Regions from separate parts of the Homo sapiens genome. Here region 2 is linked to region 1. Evidence: promoter capture Hi-C in 16 types of primary human blood cells and fetal thymus (Javierre and others, 2016). All regions are on one chromosome and are shown on one strand. The core of a region is centred on a gene start or on the middle of the fragment in contact, and the rest is flanking DNA. Distances in the headings are between cores, read along the strand shown.

Region 1 (3,540 bases), core at 186-2,685:
ATTTAAACCCCACTCTGTCCGATTTCAAAGTTTTCCTCTTTCCGCTCTTACTCTTAAGTGTGAACTGATAAAAACAATTTTGGCAAGGAATTCACCTTTTCTATAGCACTTGAATTAACTGAAGGATATAAAAGACATTATGAAATCTTAAAAAATTATGAAAGAATTACAGAGAGTAACAAATGAAGTACTGTAAAGGCAAGGAAGAACCTCATGAGATTTTGTCTTTTCCAGGGGCCCTTCTCTGACCTGGGTTGGCTGCCTGCCCCTCCTTTCTCATAGTACTCTGTGTTCACCCTAAGACAGTTCTCATCTTTATTGTGATTGTCTATTTCCTTGGTCGTCTCTACTGCCAGATTATATCTTGAGTGTTAGATATTAGATTTCACACATCTTTATATTACCAGGAGCCAGCACAATGTCTGGAACAGTGTAGGTGCTCAATAAATATTTGCCAGATAAATTATACAGGCATTTATTCTATGGTCATATTTATACATATTACTGAAAGAGATTTTTAAAATCAACTTACTATATGATGCCAAATTTTTAAAGACATACAATAATAACTAGACTAATATAAAATTATGATTCTGACTATGGTTATAACAGAATGTTTATAAGACAACTGAACCTGTGACTAAGACTGAGTGCCTACAACGTGACAGGGTGTTCTGAGTGTTTAACATTTTATTATTAATTTTTCACAAAAATCTTATGAGGGAAACAATAAAATTATTATTCTTACTTAGAAAATGGAAAAACCAGGATATGAACTTAGGCAGTACTGTTGTAGAATTTTTGTGTTTAACAACTAGGCTATTTTATATCGCCATTGTTTATTAGCTGTTTATGACAAAAACAGTTTTTTTGCATGACTCCATAGTGGTATTTTTTTTTCTTTTACAAAGCACAGTTTAATTATCAAAATCAAGTACTTACTGTTTATACAAGACTATTCTCTAATCTACAGCAGTTAGTCAAATTTGTGGAATTAGTCCACTAATGTCATAGTAGCATCTTCTAATGAAAGCTCATAGATCCTTTTCCTGTTGCTTTGCTTGTCGACCGGAACTTCCTTTCCAACAAAGGAACAGGCTCCAAGAGCAACCCTCAGTATCTTGGGAAATTGCTGCTTTTATACCTGAGCAACCTCCAAACCGAAGAGTAATTTGCTATCATCATTCTTCCTTACTGCCCTTCATAACCAGGGTCTCATATTTTTTATTTTTTCTTCTAAAAAAAAAAACAAACCCAAAAAACAACCGTTCAATTGCACCTCCCAGGTGCACTCCCAGGCTTGCCAGGGGCTTTCCAGTCGCAGACCCCGCGTGTTCGCAGACTCTGCCGCCGGCGAAACTACATTTCCCAGCGGGCCGCGCGCCCTCCTTCCGGCAGGTACCCCTCAAAACCCGGAAACGCCTTGCGGGGCAGTGTGGGAGGGAGAAGTCCAGGGCGGACAGGCTGGGCGCACCCGTGCTCGCGCACCCCAAGATGGCTGAGAGGCAGGAAGAGCAGAGAGGGAGCCCGCCCTTGAGGGCGGAAGGCAAGGCCGACGCGGAGGTTAAGCTCATTCTGTACCATTGGACGCATTCCTTCAGCTCTCAAAAGGTACAACAGGCCTTGGCGGCGGAGGGTGGCGCGGATCGGGCTTCAGCACTGGGACAGCTCCTTCTGAGTCCCGCCCAGGGAAGCCGGTCCACCTAGAAATCCGCCTCCAGTGTCCTGACCCCGGGCAGGCGCTCCCTCCAGGCGGGGACGCGCCCGGGTGGGGAGCGGGGAGAATCGATCGGAGATGATCCTATGTGGCTATGGCCCAGGCTCCGCCTCTCGCGAAATGCGACAAAAAAGCATCATTTTCAGTATTTGGTCTGGAGGCCTTGCCTGCTGGTCTTCGGAGAGAGGCAGAGGGAGGTGCCTTTGTGGACCCTCATAATCTGCGATCTCTTCTTTTGCTCTCTCGCATTCACTGTCTTCAGCAAGAGCTGATGTACCTACATGTCAGGTTCTTGTCTGGGGAGGACCCATAATCAGGTTTAGGACACCGAGAAAGTGGTAGTGATGAGGAGGGTGACTGTTTAATGAATACAGTCAGAATCATTTCATTACTTATTTTGTGTTCTTCTCTTAATTTGTTGAGTATTGTTCTTTCCTTACTTGTTAATTCCAGGAATAGGAATTGTTAAAACGACTGTTGAAAATGTCGGTAACACAGGGAAGCCCAGAAAGGCTGCTTAGCGGTGTCCAGGGAAGTCATTTAATTGAAAGCTTACATGTGTTGTAGTAACCAGTGTGAACTCTTCCAGGTGCGCTTGGTAATTGCTGAAAAGGCATTGAAGTGCGAGGAACATGATGTAAGTCTGCCCTTGAGTGAGCACAATGAGCCTTGGTTTATGCGTTTGAACTCAACTGGAGAAGTGCCTGTCCTTATCCACGGGGAAAACATAATTTGTGAGGCCACTCAGATCATTGATTATCTTGAACAGACTTTCCTGGATGGTAATGTTAAGGCTACTTGCGATTTCTTGGATTTACTTTCAACACAACTATGTGTTCCCTTTCTCTTTTTCTCTCTCTCCTCTCTCTCTTTCTCTTGTGTCATGATGGTGGTTTGGGATTAAAAACCTTTTCCATTTCCATAAGCACACAAATATCAAATAGGTCAATAACAAATTTTGTATAGGCTAGTGTAATGCTATTTAAAATAATTTAATGCAAAATACAAATGTTAATGTTGAAACTTAAAAAAATTCACTTGCAAAAAACTGCAAATGTGTGGTTTGTGTTGGTGATTTCTTAGTCTTAAATTCATAATATTCTAAATGTGCACTGTGACGATTTCATCTAATATACCAAATGGTTTCACCTTAAAAACAAGAGGGAAAAAAGAGCAATAAATCTTAAAGGAGAATAGAATGTTAGTATACCTGAGTTCTTTGCCCCAGTCACTTCTGAATTGTTTGAATTTTATATCTTTACTAAGGAATTATAGGGCTTAAATTTGTATAGTGCATTTAGGTAAATCATTTATTAACAGCTTGTTATGTGTCAGACATTTTATAATTTCTTCAATAATGTCTTCAAAAGTATCTGTCTGAGACAGGCATGGTAGACAAGTTATTCCCATTATGTAAATGAGGAGAAAGCAACAGGGTTGCCCAAAGTAATATAGCTATTGTATGGCAGAGTCTTTGGTCTCCAAAGCCTTCATACTACACTGACTGTCTCCCATAATCCTTGCCACTTACACATTGTCTTGCTTGTTCCTAATAATAATCCTTTGAAGTGAACTGTAGCTTCAAAGAGTTACCAAAGACTACACAGCTGATCACAATGGACATTGATGAGAGCAGAACATGGTGCTCAGAGCTTCCAGCTGAATGCTCTTCTAAAAAGGCTGTATGAGATTGTTACTTTTCATCTGCCACCAGTTATGTTGATGTTAATAGGGTAGGTGAAAGCAGAACCTAGCCCCAAACTACAGGAAGCTGACAAAGGAAATTACTAGGACAAAAAAAAGTCTCATGTACTTAGAAGGAA
Region 2 (3,494 bases), core at 441-2,940, 460 kb before region 1:
TGTCTGGAAGAGCCGACATCTGAGCAGAGGTGCAAAGGGGTACAGGAAAGGAATTGGGAGAGGAAACATAACTAGGTGATTGGTGTTTACAAGGGATGACAAACAGATTGGTATTGCCTAACAGAAATTGTAAAGACAGAGTGGAAGATGTGACCAAAGAGGCAAGTAAGACCAGGTCATGGAAGGTTTTATTTATTTAGCCTGTGACACAGCCTTGAGGTGATTCTCAGAACATGTGCCCTTCATGGAAGGTTCTGTTGGCTAATGAGGGGGCTGGACTTGATCTTAGAGATCATTTGGCACATTCGAGGTATTTCCAAATAGAAAGTGGTAAACCAGGCTGGGTGCAATGGCTCACGCCTGTAATCCCAGCACTTTGGGAGGCTGAGGAGTGTGGATCACCTGAGGTCAGGAGTTTGAGACCAGCCTGGCCAACATGGTGAAACCCCGTCTCTACTAAAACTACAAAAATTAGCCAGGCATAGTGGTGCGTGCCTGTAATCCCAGCTACTTGGGAGACTGAGGCAGGAGAATCGCTTGAACCCGGGAAGCGGAGGGTGCAGTGAGCCGAGATCATGCCACTGTATCCCAGCCTGGGCGACAGAGCGAGACTTCATCTCAAAAAACAAACAACAACAACAAAAACAAAAACAATAAACCAGACTTGTGTTTTAGAATGATTGTTCTAGTGGATGAACAGATTTGATCAGGTAAAGTCAGCAAAGAAAAATCAGGAAAGTAAGCTATTGCCAAGGAGTGAGAAAGTGAGGATGGACTAGGACATGTATGGAAAGGAAGGGAAGGGCTCTAGCGACAGGAGGGAGAGCAGACAGGACTGAGAGATCTGTTGTTTGTAGGGAAGGAGGAGGAGGAAAGAGTTGAGTGCTAGATTTCTGGTTTGAAAATAGAGGAGTTAGTAGAAATGGAGGCAATGAAAGTAGAAGAGGAAGAAAAAAGAATTCCCTTTTGGACATGTTTGAGATTTTCAAGTTTCCTATAGGTCATCTATTTCAGTCAGGTATTTTTCAAGTGTAAGTTGTAAAACCCATCTCAAATGAATTCAAATAGGGAGGGGAAAATAAATTCCTTAAGAAATTGTGGGAACAGAAGCTTAGCTGAAGTGGAGGGCCACTTTTTCTGTGTCTCTGTGTGAACAAAATAACCCCCAGTCTCCAGGCTCATATCCCTCCTACCAGCTCAGCAGCCCCAGGGATAGTTCTAGCTACAAAGATCTGATTGGCTTTAATCAGCTCCATCTCTCAACTAATCATCATAGTGATGAAGGAAGTGAGGTATTTACTCTGATTGGTTAGGTCTTGGCTGACTCTTACAGCATTGTGGCTGCAGTGTGGGGGTGGTCAGCCCCGCCCAGGTCACGTGTAACGAGACATCCCAGAAGGAAGAAGCTTCTTAAACTAAAATGGGAGGAGATAAGAGATGCCAGAGAAACATAAACTACAGATGTCCACTACTACAAGGAATATATTCAGTATATTCAGCAGACAATTCTACACCACAAGTTTCCGGCCCTTAAGCTGAGAGAAGGTGGGGAGAAACTCTCATTTAAGTAGAAGTTTTTGATTGTGATAACATTAGATGGCTTGAACATTTTAATGTCTGATAAGAGGCTGTTCTTGTGATAGAGGGACTAGAGCAGTTCTGGCAACTTTCTGAGATTTCATCCAGGGCAGAGAAAGCCCATCAAGCAGGTTTGAAAGGATAACAGGCAACAGCACCACATGGAGTCCAGCACATTCAGTAAAATGATTACATTTAAACCAGGAAAATAAAGAGATCACCCCAATACAGATTAGGAAAGAGAAGAACATGATGCTGAAGTCAGAAGCTAGGGGAACATGAGCATTTAGAAGCCAAAAAAAGGTCCTCAGGAATCAGTACTCAGTAGCGAGTACCATATTTTCTGTTGGAATGAGTTGTGGCGTGAACTGGTAACTGAAGAAATAGATACATCAAGAAGCTTAACTGAAGCCAGGTGCGGTGGCTCACACCTAAAATTCAACAGTTTAAGAAGCAGGGAGGGGGCAAGATGCAGTGGCTCACGTCTGTAATCCCAGCACTTTGGGAGGCCAAGGTGGACGGATCACTTGAGGTCAGGAGTTTGAGACCAGCCTGGCCAACATGGGGAAACCCCGTCTGTACTAAAACAGTACAAAAATTAGCTGGGCATGGTGGCGAGAGCCAGAAATCCCAGCTATGGGGGAGGCTAAGGCAGGAGAATCGCTTGAACCTGGGAGGCGGGGATTACAGTAGTGAGCGAGATCTTGCCACTGCACTCCAGCCTGGGCGACAGAGCAAGACTCTGTCTAAAAAAAGAGAAGAAGCAGCTGGGAGGGGAGGATTGGGATTGCTTGAGGCCAGGAGTTTGAGACCAGCCTAGGGAACACAGGGAGGGCCCCTCTCCCCATCTCTATCTACAACAAATAAAAAATTAGCTGGGCAAGGTGGTGCATACCTGTAGTCCTAGCTACTTTAAAGGCTAAGTTAGGAGGATCCCTTGAGCCTAGGCATTCAAGGCTGCAGTGAGCTAGGTTTGCACCAGGGCACCTCACTGCTCTCCAGCCCCGGCAACAGAGCAAGACTTTGTCTCAAAAAAAAAAAAAAAAAAGCTTAATCTGAGAAAAGAAAGTGGGAAATGAGATAAATGCAAAGTCAAGAGTAGGGAACAGTTTAGTTTTTTATTTGCTTATTTTAGAAAGAGATTTGAGCATTTTCATTGCCTAAAGAGAGTCTGAGAGGTCAAAGAATAAGGAGAGAGAGAAGTGTTTCAAAATGCTAGGAGTCTGAAGATGGAAGGCTGTGTGGGTGATGTACATTGGTTTTGAGGTGGAGGAAGACTCCTAATAGCTTTTTATGTTATAATACCATAGGACTGGGGGACATATTCTCCTATGATATGACATAGGAATTATAAAACCACAAGATAGACATGGTACGTCTCTGTAGAACAAGAATTTTACTGTTTGGTAAGTTATTTAAAACAGAGTGGGCCGGGCGCGGTGGCTCACTCCTGTAATCCCAGCACTTTGGGAGGCCGAGGCGGGCGGATCACAAGGTCAGGAGATCGAAACCATCCTGGCTAACACGGTGAAACCCCGTCTCTACTGAAAATACAAAAAAAAAAAAAAAAAAAAAAAAAAATTAGCCGGGCGCGGTAGCGGGTGCCTGTAGTCCCAGCTACTCGGGAGGCTGAGGCAGGAGAATGGCGCGAACCCGGGAGGCGGAGCTTGCTGCCGAGATCGCGCCACTGCACTCCAGCCTGGGGGACAGAGCGAGACTCCGTCTCAAACAAAAGAAAACAAAAAAACAGAGCGTTCTTCAGACTCTGGAATTCAAGTTCACACTCCAGTGGAAATTGAGAATCATTGAGGTAGATGTTAAACTTCATCATATTGCTTCCTTTTACTTAATTGGCTGTATCAAATGAAATGAAAAATAACAGTTTAAAAGGATTAGAGAAGCTGGCCTTGAAGAGG

Evidence for each region. The method cuts DNA at HindIII sites, captures the fragments that hold promoters and counts their contacts. A CHiCAGO score of 5 or more calls a contact.
Region 2: a fragment that was not itself captured here is called in contact with the fragment with the promoter of GDAP1 in region 1 in 1 of 17 cell types (fetal thymus); the score reaches 6.1 in fetal thymus.

What each region holds. Positions count from the first base shown.
Region 1 is chr8:74,348,968-74,352,507 of GRCh38, forward strand. GDAP1 (ganglioside induced differentiation associated protein 1) reads left to right here and starts at 1,436. Exons shown (of 6, transcript NM_018972.4): 1 at 1,436-1,611; 2 at 2,307-2,499. The coding sequence starts at 1,495. RefSeq lists an enhancer at 1,449-1,678. The HindIII fragment of the contact is 8,708 bases long and covers 1-2,266 here.
Region 2 is chr8:73,891,804-73,895,297 of GRCh38, forward strand. No RefSeq gene overlaps it. Among named protein-coding and RNA genes, the nearest start is that of LINC01617, 15 kb to the left of the region's middle. RefSeq lists an enhancer at 1,408-1,487. The HindIII fragment of the contact is 572 bases long and covers 1,405-1,976 here.